Linked DNA regions of Homo sapiens: all the other regions are linked to region 1. The links are contacts of gene promoters, found by promoter capture Hi-C in blood cells and fetal thymus (Javierre and others, 2016). All regions are on one chromosome and are shown on one strand. The core of a region is centred on a gene start or on the middle of the fragment in contact, and the rest is flanking DNA. Distances in the headings are between cores, read along the strand shown.

Region 1 (4,248 bases), core at 254-2,753:
GTAGGTGAAGCATATGGCACCCGAGGGCAGGAAGAAGGTGAGGCCCGACGCCACAAGGACAAAAGGCAGGCTGGCCAGCAGGCGGCACTGGCCAGGGACGGGTGGCCGTGCGTGGCCCAGCTCGTGCCAGCCCAGCAGCAGGGGCAGGAAGGAGGCGAGAGCGGCGAGGCTCCAGGCGCCCAGGACTAGGGCCAGGGCACGCAGGGGCGTCATGCGCAGCTTGTAGCGCAGCGGCGAGAGGATGAGCAGGTAGCGGTCCAGGCTGATGAGGCAGAGGTTGAGGATGGAGGCGCTGCAGCACATCACGTCGAAGGCGGTCCAGAGCAGGCAGAGGCCGCGCGCCAGCACCCAGCGCCCGTACAGCGCGTTCAGCATGGCCGGCGGCATCACCACCAGCCCCACCATCAGGTCAGACGTGAAGAGCGACACCAGGAAGAAGTTGGACGTGTTGCGCAGCGCGGGCTGAGTGCAGATGAGCGCGATCAGCAGCGAGTTGGCCGCCGCCGTCAGCGCGATGACCACGCACAGCGCGGCCGCCACCCAGCCGCTGCCCCCCGGGGCCGACGGCGGCCCTGCCCCCCAGGCCGGGGTGCTATTGGCGGTTGGGCCCGGCTCTGGGACCATGAGGACCGAGGGTGGACGGCAAGGGAGTGATAGGGTGGCGGGAAAGCAGATGAGGGCCCCGGCGAAGCGCAGGCTGGACGGGGACCGTCCGTGAGAACAGACCGCGACTCACCACGCCCCCCGGGGGAGGTGAGTGGGGGGACATGGGCGGGGGCGCTGGGTCGCGCTAGGTCAGGGGGCAGCGACTACAGGAGGACACAGTGTGGCTATTTGGGCGCCCTCGGGGATGGGGCAGGAACTCCTGGAGCAAACGGGTTGGAAGTTTGGGGAGGGGCACCCGATGAGCCGAGGCCCCTGAAGGAAGCGGCGGGAAGTCAAGCAGAGGTCGGATGGGCTCCCTGGGGTGGGAGCAGAGCCCCCTGGAGGGGGCGGGCGGCAAGATAGGGGAGGGGCGTCCGGCCGGGTCAGAGTGCGGGGAAGTGGGAACGCGGGGAGGTGGGTGAGGGGGGTGAATGGGCGCTCTCGGGCCGGAGCAGGCTCCCCGCGGCCGGTGGGCGTGTGGGGTACCAGGGCGGGGGCCTAGGGGCCGGAGCAAAGCCGCCCCTGGGAAAGGCAGGTCTCAGCTGGCGCGGAGGCACCGGGATCCGGCGCACACGGCCTGTGCGGCGCGGGGGTTCGCCGGGGCCGCCAGGCCCCGCGGGAAGAGGAGGGCAGCGGCCGCGCGGCGCCCCCTCCCCACCCGGCAGCAGGGTCGCCTCCGTCTCCCGCCCGCACTGGTACCTGGGGCGCTCTGGCTGCTCCGCCGCCTGCGACTGCGGCAAGCGCCGCGGGGCTGCGAGAGGAAGAGGCGGCCGCGGGCCGGGCGGGCGGCGGGACCGGGTCTCCCGAGCCCGGGAGGCGCCGCGAGGGGCCCGCACGCGCGGAGGAGAGGCCGGGTGCAGCCTGGAGCGCGCGGTCCCCGCGCCGCGGAGCGTGCGCCCCGCCTCGCGGTGGGCGGGGAGAGCCGAGCCCTGGCCCTGCAGGAGGGCGGGGTCCCGGCACCCCGGGCCTGTGGGCCGAAGATCAGAGCGCCCCAGCTGCGAGGGGTCACCTCCCGGGCTGTGGCAGCCCCCACACCCTCAGATGCCCCTCCCAACCCACACGTGGCGGCGGCGCAGGCGGAACTGGGAGCAGGGGGCTGTGACCTGCCCTTATCCAGGGGCTGCTCTCTAATGGGTGCCTGCCCACTCACAACGGGGTCACCGGGCTTTCAGGGGAGCCAGGAGTTGGGAAATATTGGACAAATCGCCTGACACCCCTCTGGGCCTCAGTTGCCATATCTGTAAAATGGGTTAGTAATTCTGGGCATTCTTCACCGTTAGTTTGAGCAAGAAGCTAACCTTCCCCAGGGCCTTTCCCGCAGAAACCATCCCGATCCCCAAAGGGGCCAGGTACTAAGGATGAAGTCCCTGAGCTGTTGGCGCTCCTAGTCTAACAGAGCGTGAACAGATTTGAGAATCCCCAGGCCAGGTGTGTTAAGAGTCGCTGCAGGCAGAGGCGTGGGGTGTGGTTTCCCCTGGGTGTGACCTCCCTCTGTACGTCTCCCCTCTGGCTGAGAAGAGTCTCTGCCTAACACTGCTGTGCAGGTTAATACTGTTATTCATTCATTCATTGAACAGATACTTCAATGCATCTTTTAAGGCGCATCCACTAGATGTCAGGCACTGTTCTGACCCATCAGGACACTACAGTGGCCAAAACAAAGATCCGCACCTCCATGGAGCTTACATTCTAGTGGAAGAAACAGACAATAAACAATAAGCATAATCAACAGAGAAAGTGGGCCCAGCGAGGTGGCTCACGCCTGTAATCCCAGCACTTTGGGAGGCGGAGGTGGGCAGATCACCTGAGGTCAGGAGTTCGAGACCAGCCTGACCAACATGGTAAAACCCCGTCTCTATCAAAAATACAAAAATTAGCTGGGCGTGGTGGCGGGAGCCTGTAATCCCAGCTATTCGGGAGGCTGAGGCAGGAGAATTGCTTGAACCTGGGAGGCAGAGGTTCCAGTGAGCCAAGATTGTGCCACTGCACACTCCAGCCTGGGTGACAGAGCAAGACTCTGTCAAAAAAAAAAAAAAAAAAAAAAAAAAAAAGGAAAGAAAGAAAGAGAGAAAGGAAAGAAAGAGAAAGAAAGAAGAGAAAGAGAAAAAGAAAATGTAGTATAAAGAGAACGGGGTGGGATCATTTTTTCTCCACAGAAACAGAAAAATAATACTTTCCAAATCGAAGGCTCCTGCGCTGTCCCCAGGGGCTTTGTTGTACGGTTCCTACTCCTCCAGTTATTTATTCCGACCCCTACAATAATGCTGAGAGGTAGACGTTAAACTGGGGTTCAGAGAGGCCAAGGGCCTTGCCCCAGATCACCAGCAGCAAGTGGTGAAGTGGACCTGAAACCCAGATCTGCTCGATGCCCATGGCAAAGAGAGCCCATTACAGATGGTCAAAAACCTCCCCTCAGGCACCTCAGAGCCTGCAGCACCCACCCGCCAACTCTAAGCTGCTATTTGGTGCTCAGAGCCCCAGCCTTGCCCACAGAAGCATCTTTTAAGCAGATAGAGGAGGCCTGTCCTTCCTCCTTGCCACCACACTGCACCACTGTGACGATTTCTGCCATGCCCCCAAGGAACAGAACGTAGTACAGCAAGCCTGGGCAGAGAGTCAGAAACACATGGCTTGGGATCCCCGCTCCATCCCAGCTCTGGGATTACAGGGCCAGTGGCTCCATCTCCTTGGGTCACAGCTTTCTCTTCTGTAATAGTTAGCAGAACAATATGGCACCCACCTCACAGAGTAGCTGAGGGGATTAAATGACACTGATGTAATCTGTGTCTTTGATACTATGTTAACACTAGCTGGCCGGGCACAGTGGCTCACGCCTGTAATCCCAACACTTTGGGAGGCCAAGGCGGGCAGATCACCTGAGGTCAGGAGTTCGAGACCAGCCTGGTCAATATGATGAAACCCCGTCTCTACTAAAAATACAAAATTAGCCAGGTGTAGTGATGCACGCCCATAATCCCAGCTACTCAGGAGGCTGAGGCAGGAGAATCACTTGAACCCACAAGGCAGAGGTTGCAGTGAGCTGAGATCACACCACTGCACTCTAGCCTGGGCAAAAACAGCGAAACTCCATCTAAAAAAAAAAAAAACAAAAAAACAAAAAAACAAAAAAAAAACCTAGCTCTTGGCTTTAGTGTTCCCATCAGCACAATCGTAATGCATTCAGCTCTGTGCTAACTCCTTGAGCCCAGGGATTTCTGACGTGAACAGCTGCAACCCTGAGAGGTGCTGTGTGGAAGGATTTTGGAGCCCAGCATCCTGGGTTCATCATCCAGAGTCTGCCACTTGCTCTGTGAAGTTGTGCAAAGCCTCTTAAATTCTCTGCTGCTATGAAACCAAGGCAGTGGAGCTGTGAATGAGATGAGTAAAAAATTTTGCCTGATAAATGTTGCTTTGTAAAAATCTGTAGGTAGTGCATAGAATATTAGTCTTTCTGCTTTCACTTTTCCCACAATACTTGATATCTTTTATTTTAAAAAAAAGACCTAAAGATTAGCTGAGCGTGGTGGTGCACGACTCTAGTTTCAGCTACTTGTGAGACTGAGGTGAGAGGATTGCTTGAGGCCAAGTGTTCAAGGCTGCAGT
Region 2 (3,706 bases), core at 204-2,703, 520 kb after region 1:
AGCGTGGGTAGCCTTCTCGCTGGAAAAGGGTGAGGTGAGGGAGTCCCTCAGGAAATAGACTGCTAGTGTTTTCGCTCCCTCAGGTGTGGCACAGCACGAGAAGTGTACTGTACTTGTTGGTGAGACAAGTGTTGAATAGTTCTTGGAGTGCCTCTGATGGGAACATCTGGGGAAAGAGGGTATCACTTATAAAAGAAAGGCATTGCCAAAGGAGACAAACTGGGCCAATTTCTGTAGATGGAAAAGATGAGAGTTCAGACCCCTGAGGAGGAAGGCTCTGAGAGGAGCCATCAACCCAGAGCTTTGGTTAGCTTCTGTGCCTCCAACCCGGAGAACTGAGAAATGTGAGTTTAACCTGCTGTCTCTCAAGGAAAGACAATTTTGGAAACACTGTCCTTGGGTAATATGAATTTGCTAAGAAATGACTCTTCTATTGTAAGAGAAAGAAATCTAGCAGTTCTGGAGAACTGAGTAGATTTGAATTTTCCCATCATACTTTGATACTGCAGGGTTTTTATTTTTTAATGACATTAATATTTTATGTATTAAGAAACTTAACTATATGAGGCTGCTTTGAAGATCTGTTGTAGGTGATTGGTGTTCATTGGCCTGTTCTCTTGAGAGGAGGTAATAATCCTGGTGATCTGCCAGCTTTTCTCTCCTCTTTGCTTTTGTACCCAGCTCTTGCTTATGGCTGACCCTCTGTGCTCCTGTTGTTTTACAGGATCAGGCCTTGCTGAGCAAAGCTGTGCAGTGTCTCAACACATCTAGCAAAGAGGGCAAGGATTTGGACCCTGAGGTGTTCCAGAGGCTAGTGATCACAGCTCGCTCCATTGCCATCATGCGCCCCAACAACCTTGTCCACTTTACGGAGTCAAAGCTGCCCCAGATGGAAACAGGTGAACTTGGCCTCTGTGGCCGTGGTCCTGAGATCTGCTTCATATGCCTATTTACCCTCTCATTCTTACTGTTCTTACTGGCCTCTGACTGACTGCATGCTCAGAGACAGGGATTTTGCTTCCTGGTCTTTATACCTTGTAGGGCCTTTTGACATTGAGATTGTACAATTTTAAACACATTCTTTTTCCAGTGCTTATACTTTCGATTATCCTTGAGTTTATTTAGTGTTCTAGACATCAGATATAATCTGTCTCTGAAGTTATTACCTCTTAGGAGCTTCAGGGGAAAGCTAAGCTTGGTTGGGCCCTGGTTGCTTTAAAGCAACTATGGCATATCTTTCGCTTTCATGCCATTCTTTTGCCAGTGCTATTATTAATAATGTGTAGCAACTTTCTCAGTGCTCAGTGCTGTTTCCTCATCTCCTCTTCTGTTGGCTGGGTAGCAAACCTGTTTTGTCATTGTCAAATTGAGTTGATTGCTGCCTTTACAATTCTGTGTTATTTACATGCTCCCATATGCATCATCATTCTGTTCCTCCTTTTAATACTACAATCCCAGAATTGTTCTAGAGAGATCTCTAGAATGTTCAGATGTTCCTCTACGTTTTAGAAGTTGAACAGTTGGAACTGAGATCTTTGAATCTGCGGTAAACATCCTAAATGCTCCCCGTTCTACTTAATTCTAACATACAATGTTTTCTGCGATATTCCTTTCCCAGACTGTTTTTTTCCTAGATGTGCCTGCTGGAGTCTAGGGATAGTTGGCATATTGATTGGGGCCCCACTTGAAACTCCCTCCCCAGGCAAGCTTCCTTGACCTGAGTTAACCTTAAAACAAATTAAATTCCATCTCAGATTTACCATCGTTGATAATTTTCTTTCTCCTGCTTAGAAGGAATGGATGAAGGGAAGGAACCGCAGAAGCAGTTGGAAGGAGATTGCTGTAGTTTCATCACCCAGCTTGTGAACCACTTCTGGAAACTCCATGCATCCAAACCCAAGAATGCCTTCTTGGCACCTGCCTGCCTTCCAGGTATGTTAAAAGGGATATTTGAATCTTGGTAATGAAGCCTGATGTAAGTTCTGTCTTTGAACAGCTATGACCGTTAGCCATTAGCTTTCATTCTTCATAATCCATTTCTTCCAGAACTCATAATTGGGAAGTAGAAGTCTGCGAGATAAATGCAATGTTCCTGAGACAGGAATTTAGCAGTGTGGCAGAGTGGGATTTTCTTCTACCATATCTTTTCATCGGGGTTGAATATTTTACATAAAGAGGCACTGTGTGTGTGTGTGTGTGTGTGTGTGTGTGTGTGTCTCAGTGGTTTATAATTGTTTTTAAAAATCTTTGACAACTTGGCTTAAAGCCAGCTCAAAAGGCACAAGTATCTTGAGGATTATTCTATTTCTAAGCTATTTGGTCTCTAACTTCTTACACTATTGAAAATTCAGATGGAAGAGTAAAGGGTCTGAATAGCAATATAGAAAAGTAGGATGATCCTGGTGCTCATTCATGTTTGGAGGACATTTGGGTGGTAAACCTAAAAGGCAAGTCAAGGTCATGTTTTGTCATCACCTGAGGTTGGGGGATATTAGGGAACATTTAGTATCTGCCTTCCTCTTCATATTTCCTTGCCTTGTCTTTTGATATCCAGAGAGAGTGGACAGCTACTTATTTCTGTGACTCAAGATATCTGGAAAGACTTTTGAGGACAATTTGGGAGTTTAGGAAACTGTTAATGAAACAAATCATAAATAATACAGGCTACTGTGTGTGAATGAGTGTGTATGTGAGTGTTTGTCATTTTGTTTGCATGACCTTTTACATGGAGATAAAAGGTTACACTTTTGTCTCAGACTCTCAAGTAGTTAGAGTTTTTTCCTCCAGATTTTCAAATAATGTTTGTCTCTCCTTTAGGACTAACTCATATTGAAGCTACTGTCAATGCTCTGGTGGACATCATCCATGGCTACTGTACCTGTGAGCTGGATTGTATTAACACAGCATCCAAGATCTACATGCAGATGCTCTTGTGTCCTGTACGTAGCATTACAATCCCAGAGAGCTCGCAGCAGCCAGGGAATATCTGGAAAATTGTTTTTAGCTTGCTAAGCTAATGAAATAAAATATATTTAGAGGAAGCTGAAGGGAATGAAGTTTCAAATATCAATAAAAGCTTTAAGATCTTACTCCATGGAAGAGAAAGATTTGGAAAGGGGATGGGCTCAGTCTTTCTTATTCAGTGCTGAATCACCAGGGACAGCCTACTGCTTGCTACATAGTAAGTGCTAGGTAACTCGGTGAATTGTGACTTAAATGAGCACATGAATGAAAGTAGTACATCAAGATTTCTATTTCCAGTGACCCTTTCACAGAAGCTAAGTGTTAAAACTACTGATTTTAGCACAGAGCTAAGACGTGCGCTGGGGGCTTGATCATCTGATAAAAAGCCAGAACCATTTGTAAGGGGCCAAAATGGCCTCAGGAGCAAATGACCTGCCAGTCCATCCCCAGGAACTGAGAGACAGGAGGTTAGCGAATGGCTCTTAATGTGTGCCAGAACAGGAAGCGGGGATTAACTTAACCTGCTGAACTTGGTCCGCTGGGTTGCAGGTGAGAGTAGAGAGGTATTCCACTTGCATGTGAGTGAGTGACCAAGAAAGGAAAGTGTTTTATAGAGAGTTTCATGAATAATATGAGAGCAAAGCGTGACAGTTTCCTTTTAAACCTCAGGATCCTGCTGTGAGCTTCTCTTGTAAACAAGCTCTAATTCGAGTCCTAAGGCCCAGGAACAAACGGAGACATG
Region 3 (3,919 bases), core at 1,315-3,814, 550 kb after region 1:
TTATTCTGTGAAATAATAACACCTTCTCTATGGAGCTCCCATCAGAGTTCAGTGAAATGACACTGAGTACATTGGTAAATGCTCAGTAAATGTTAGCTCTCTTAGCTGACCCTCACCATCAGCTGCACTGCTTTCCATGGTCCTTGGAGACCTGAGATCAGTGGTCAGGGTTGAGAGCCATGGTGGTGGTTCACATTCCCCCAGTTAATGATCAGACATCTCTGTGTAGGCCTATTGCAAGCCCTTGAAAGGAAGTTCCTCCTCCTCCAGTGTCACTGTATTTGTTCAGTGCCAGCTTACATAGCACTTTATCCTGTGGTTTTTAGTGTCATTATTGTATGTCTTGTCTGGAAGGCAGCTGTGCTCACCACTGCATCACCAACGTTACACATATGTCTCATTTGGGGCTGACCTATTTGTCCCCCAGTAAACAACTAAAAATTGTTTTGCAGAATATCAGCATTCAGTAGAAACTTTTAGAAATGGACAGAATTCCCTCCCTCACCATTTGGTAGCCCAGGCCTTAGGACCCTGGAGGACTTCTTCCTACTCTTCAGCCCTTAGTCCTGTCCTAATCTTGCAGGTGAGACCTCTGGCAGCCAGGAGGACCAGCTGTGCACAGCTCTGGTGAACCAGCTGAACAAATTTGCCGATAAGGAAACCCTGATCCAGTTCCTGCGTTGTTTCCTGTTAGAGTCCAATTCTTCCTCGGTGCGCTGGCAGGCCCACTGTCTGACACTGCACATCTACAGGTAGGGCCAGGGCTTGGTTTGACAGATCTGCAAGGGTGTGAGGCCAGGGTGCGTAATGCAGTTCTATTTTGTTTTCGGTTACATATGGTCACAGAGTCAGTAGTTACGCCAGCCTGAATCCTCTTGTGCTTTAGAGATTTCTTTATTGTTGTCTGCTTTTTAGCCATTAAACTGACGTCATAGGCAGGAGACGATCTGTTTTCTACTCAGAAGGCTATGTATCGGGGTTTGTAACATGACCAAGCTTGACCCTTCAGGCTAAAAAAGCTCAGCTTCTGCTCTGGGATATGTTGGGTGATGGGTAGAGGCAGCAAATGACTATGCTGCATCTGGTAGGATTGATTGTCAAAAGTGAAACAAAACCGTTCAAACTTAACCCATAATTGTGGGGAAATTGAGGTACCAGAGCCTCAATGATAAACACAGGTGCCTCAGGGTTTTCTGCTGCTTGGTAACATGAGCTGTCATATATCCACAGAAATTCCAGCAAATCTCAACAGGAGCTCCTGCTAGATCTGATGTGGTCCATCTGGCCAGAACTCCCAGCCTATGGTCGTAAGGCTGCCCAGTTTGTGGACCTACTAGGATATTTCTCCCTGAAAACTCCACAAACAGAGAAGAAGGTAACAGTTGCTTTATGGTCAGAGGGGCCAACTTGCCATATTTAACCTTTTTTCTCTTGAGTTAAGAATATTATGAACAACCCAGATATAGGGAGTCCATATAGGAAACCTCTTTTAAATATATCTAGTTTTGCATTTCTTGGTAAGCACTCGTAATATGTCTGTGATGTAGACAGTATACACTAACAAATCTAACTTAACATAGGACGTAGGTCAAGGTCAGGTGGGGAAAGAAGATAGAACTCATTACAGTTCCTTGGAAAAGCAAGTGCTCCTTGTTTTGCTAGTAGCCCTGATTATACATACCAGAAAATGTTTCTGCAATTAGCTAACCATTTTATGGCTTCTCCATAAAAATAAAAATGATCTTCCTCCATCAGGTCAGAAAAGGGTACTACCTATCACTAAAGCTCATGGAAACTTCTAAAGGAGATAGAATCCATTTAAATGATTGAAATTAGGCCCAGCTTTGTATGATTCTGACTGAGAAGTCTGGTAGGTCTAGGGCAGTATTCAGCTAGAATGCAGAAGACAAAAGTCTTTTCCAATAAGACTTCACCTTGGGCTTTAAGTTGTTTCTTTACTGAATTCTGTTTCAGTTGAAGGAGTATTCACAGAAGGCTGTGGAGATTCTGCGGACTCAAAACCATATTCTTACCAACCACCCCAACTCGAACATTTATAAGTGAGCTTTGTTTTGCTTTCTACCTGTGGGAAGCTCAGTCAGCATTCTGAGGAGTTATTTGCATGGTGATAGGCTCTTACATAGGAATTGACAAGCGCCTGAGAGAAGAGCGAATCTGCCTAGTTGAGATTCCAATCCCCTCCATGTAGGCCAGGGTCTTGCAAATAGAAGGTACTCAAAATGTCATTGCTGAGTTCAGGGTTTGGTGAGTAGTAATGTAGAAAGGTCTGTATAGCCTGGGCAACATAGTGAGACTTCATCTCTTAAAAAAAAATTTAAAAAAGTTAGCCAGGCGTGGTGGCGTGTACCTGTGGTCCCAGCTGCTGGGGAGGCTGAGGCAGGAGGATGGCTTGGGGCCAGAAGTTCGAGGGTGCAATGAACTGTGATCCACGCCACTGCACTCCAGCCTGGGTGACAGAGTGAGACCCTGTCTCAAAAAAAAAAAAAAAAAAAGGTCTTTAGTTTCAAGGGTTTAAGTTAAATAAGGTGAAACAAATTTAAAGAAAATGTCTTCCTTTTTTTAAAAAAACTTCTAAAAGAGGATATTGGTTAAATTGACAGTTTATTATTTCTCTGGTTTAGTAGTGACTGTTCTTTAAAAAAAATTTAAAAAAACTTTATTGAGATAATTTATGTATTAACCTATTTTAAATGTACAGTTCAATGATTTTTAGTAAATTTAATTGTGACTCTTGAGTCAAATTTTACTACTTTTTAGAATTCCTCTGAAGGATAGATCAAAGATTAGGAAACATCTAAGGTCAGTTAGTTGAAATTTCTTTCCTGTGGCTTCGTAACCCTATTGGGATTTCTCCTGTGTCCTTGAGTTCTCACTAGGGTGGGGCTCACTTTGGGCTCACTTTGGCTCACATTGAGCCATGGCTTTGTCATGATTTTTTTGTGAAACTCAGTGCTTCCTAAGATGAAAATGTGTTCATGCTAAGACTGGTTTCTTCCTTAGCACTTTGTCTGGCTTAGTGGAGTTTGATGGCTATTACCTGGAGAGCGATCCCTGCCTGGTGTGTAATAACCCGGAAGTACCGTTCTGTGTAAGTAACATCTGTACATGGACAGTCCTGAGGCCAATAGGTCCAGTGGGATTCTTGTTTCCAGAGATGGATCATTATCACATAGATGTTCCTCTCCTAATGGTTGGTCACCGATAGTAGGAATTTTTATCTGCCACATTTATTACCTTAAATAGAAACTTGGCTGGGTGCAGTGGCTCAAGCCTATAATCCCAGTACTTTGGGAGGCTAAGATGGGAGGATCCCCTGAGCCCAGGGGTTTTAGACCAGCCTGGGCAAGATGGTGAGACCCCATCTCTACAAAATATTTTTTAAAAAATTAAATAGAAACTTCATCTTGTGGATGAAGAGTGGGTTACACTGATGAATTTTTAAAAAGGCAGTACGAGTCTTGAACTAATACCATGTTTTGTGAACTCTTGTATTTAGTATATCAAGCTGTCTTCCATTAAAGTGGACACGCGGTACACCACCACCCAGCAGGTTGTGAAGCTCATTGGCAGTCACACCATCAGCAAAGTGACAGTGAAAATCGGGGATCTGAAACGGACCAAGATGGTGCGGACCATCAACCTGTATTATAACAACCGAACCGTGCAGGCCATCGTGGAGTTGAAAAACAAGTACGGGCTTTTTAGGCCTCGGGAGGGGCAGCAGGTTGTAAGGCTGAAGCTCAGTTGCTGCCTTCGGTTCCTGGAATGGAGTAAGGCAGCACATCCCTAGAGGCCTAATACATCCTCTTGGCCCCTCCATTCATGACCAAAGGACAAAAGTGAAACAACAGTTCTAAGCATGTTGACAAAGATTATTTCTAAATTAGCCCAGTGGAGC

What was found. The method cuts DNA at HindIII sites, captures the fragments that hold promoters and counts their contacts. A CHiCAGO score of 5 or more calls a contact.
Region 2: a contact is called between a fragment that was not itself captured here and the fragment with the promoter of HTR6 in region 1, in 1 of 17 cell types (naive B cells). The highest score is 5.8, in naive B cells.
Region 3: a contact is called between a fragment that was not itself captured here and the fragment with the promoter of HTR6 in region 1, in 1 of 17 cell types (activated CD4 T cells). The highest score is 5.8, in activated CD4 T cells.

What each region holds. Positions count from the first base shown.
Region 1 is chr1:19,662,130-19,666,377 of GRCh38, reverse strand. It overlaps HTR6 (5-hydroxytryptamine receptor 6), which reads right to left and starts at 1,503. Exons shown (of 3, transcript NM_000871.3): 1 at 1-1,503. The coding sequence starts at 624. RefSeq lists enhancers at 1-708, 709-1,681 and a silencer at 1,460-1,689. The HindIII fragment of the contact is 8,359 bases long and covers 1-4,248 here.
Region 2 is chr1:19,144,019-19,147,724 of GRCh38, reverse strand. UBR4 (ubiquitin protein ligase E3 component n-recognin 4) reads left to right here. Exons shown (of 106, transcript NM_020765.3): 52 at 725-899; 53 at 1,792-1,932; 54 at 2,818-2,939; 55 at 3,634-3,706. Among named protein-coding and RNA genes, the nearest start is that of UBR4, 64 kb to the left of the region's middle. The HindIII fragment of the contact is 513 bases long and covers 1,197-1,709 here.
Region 3 is chr1:19,117,013-19,120,931 of GRCh38, reverse strand. It overlaps UBR4 (ubiquitin protein ligase E3 component n-recognin 4), which reads left to right. Exons shown (of 106, transcript NM_020765.3): 69 at 584-752; 70 at 1,231-1,375; 71 at 1,975-2,060; 72 at 3,022-3,109; 73 at 3,518-3,711. Among named protein-coding and RNA genes, the nearest start is that of UBR4, 91 kb to the left of the region's middle. RefSeq lists an enhancer at 177-1,376. The HindIII fragment of the contact is 3,131 bases long and covers 999-3,919 here.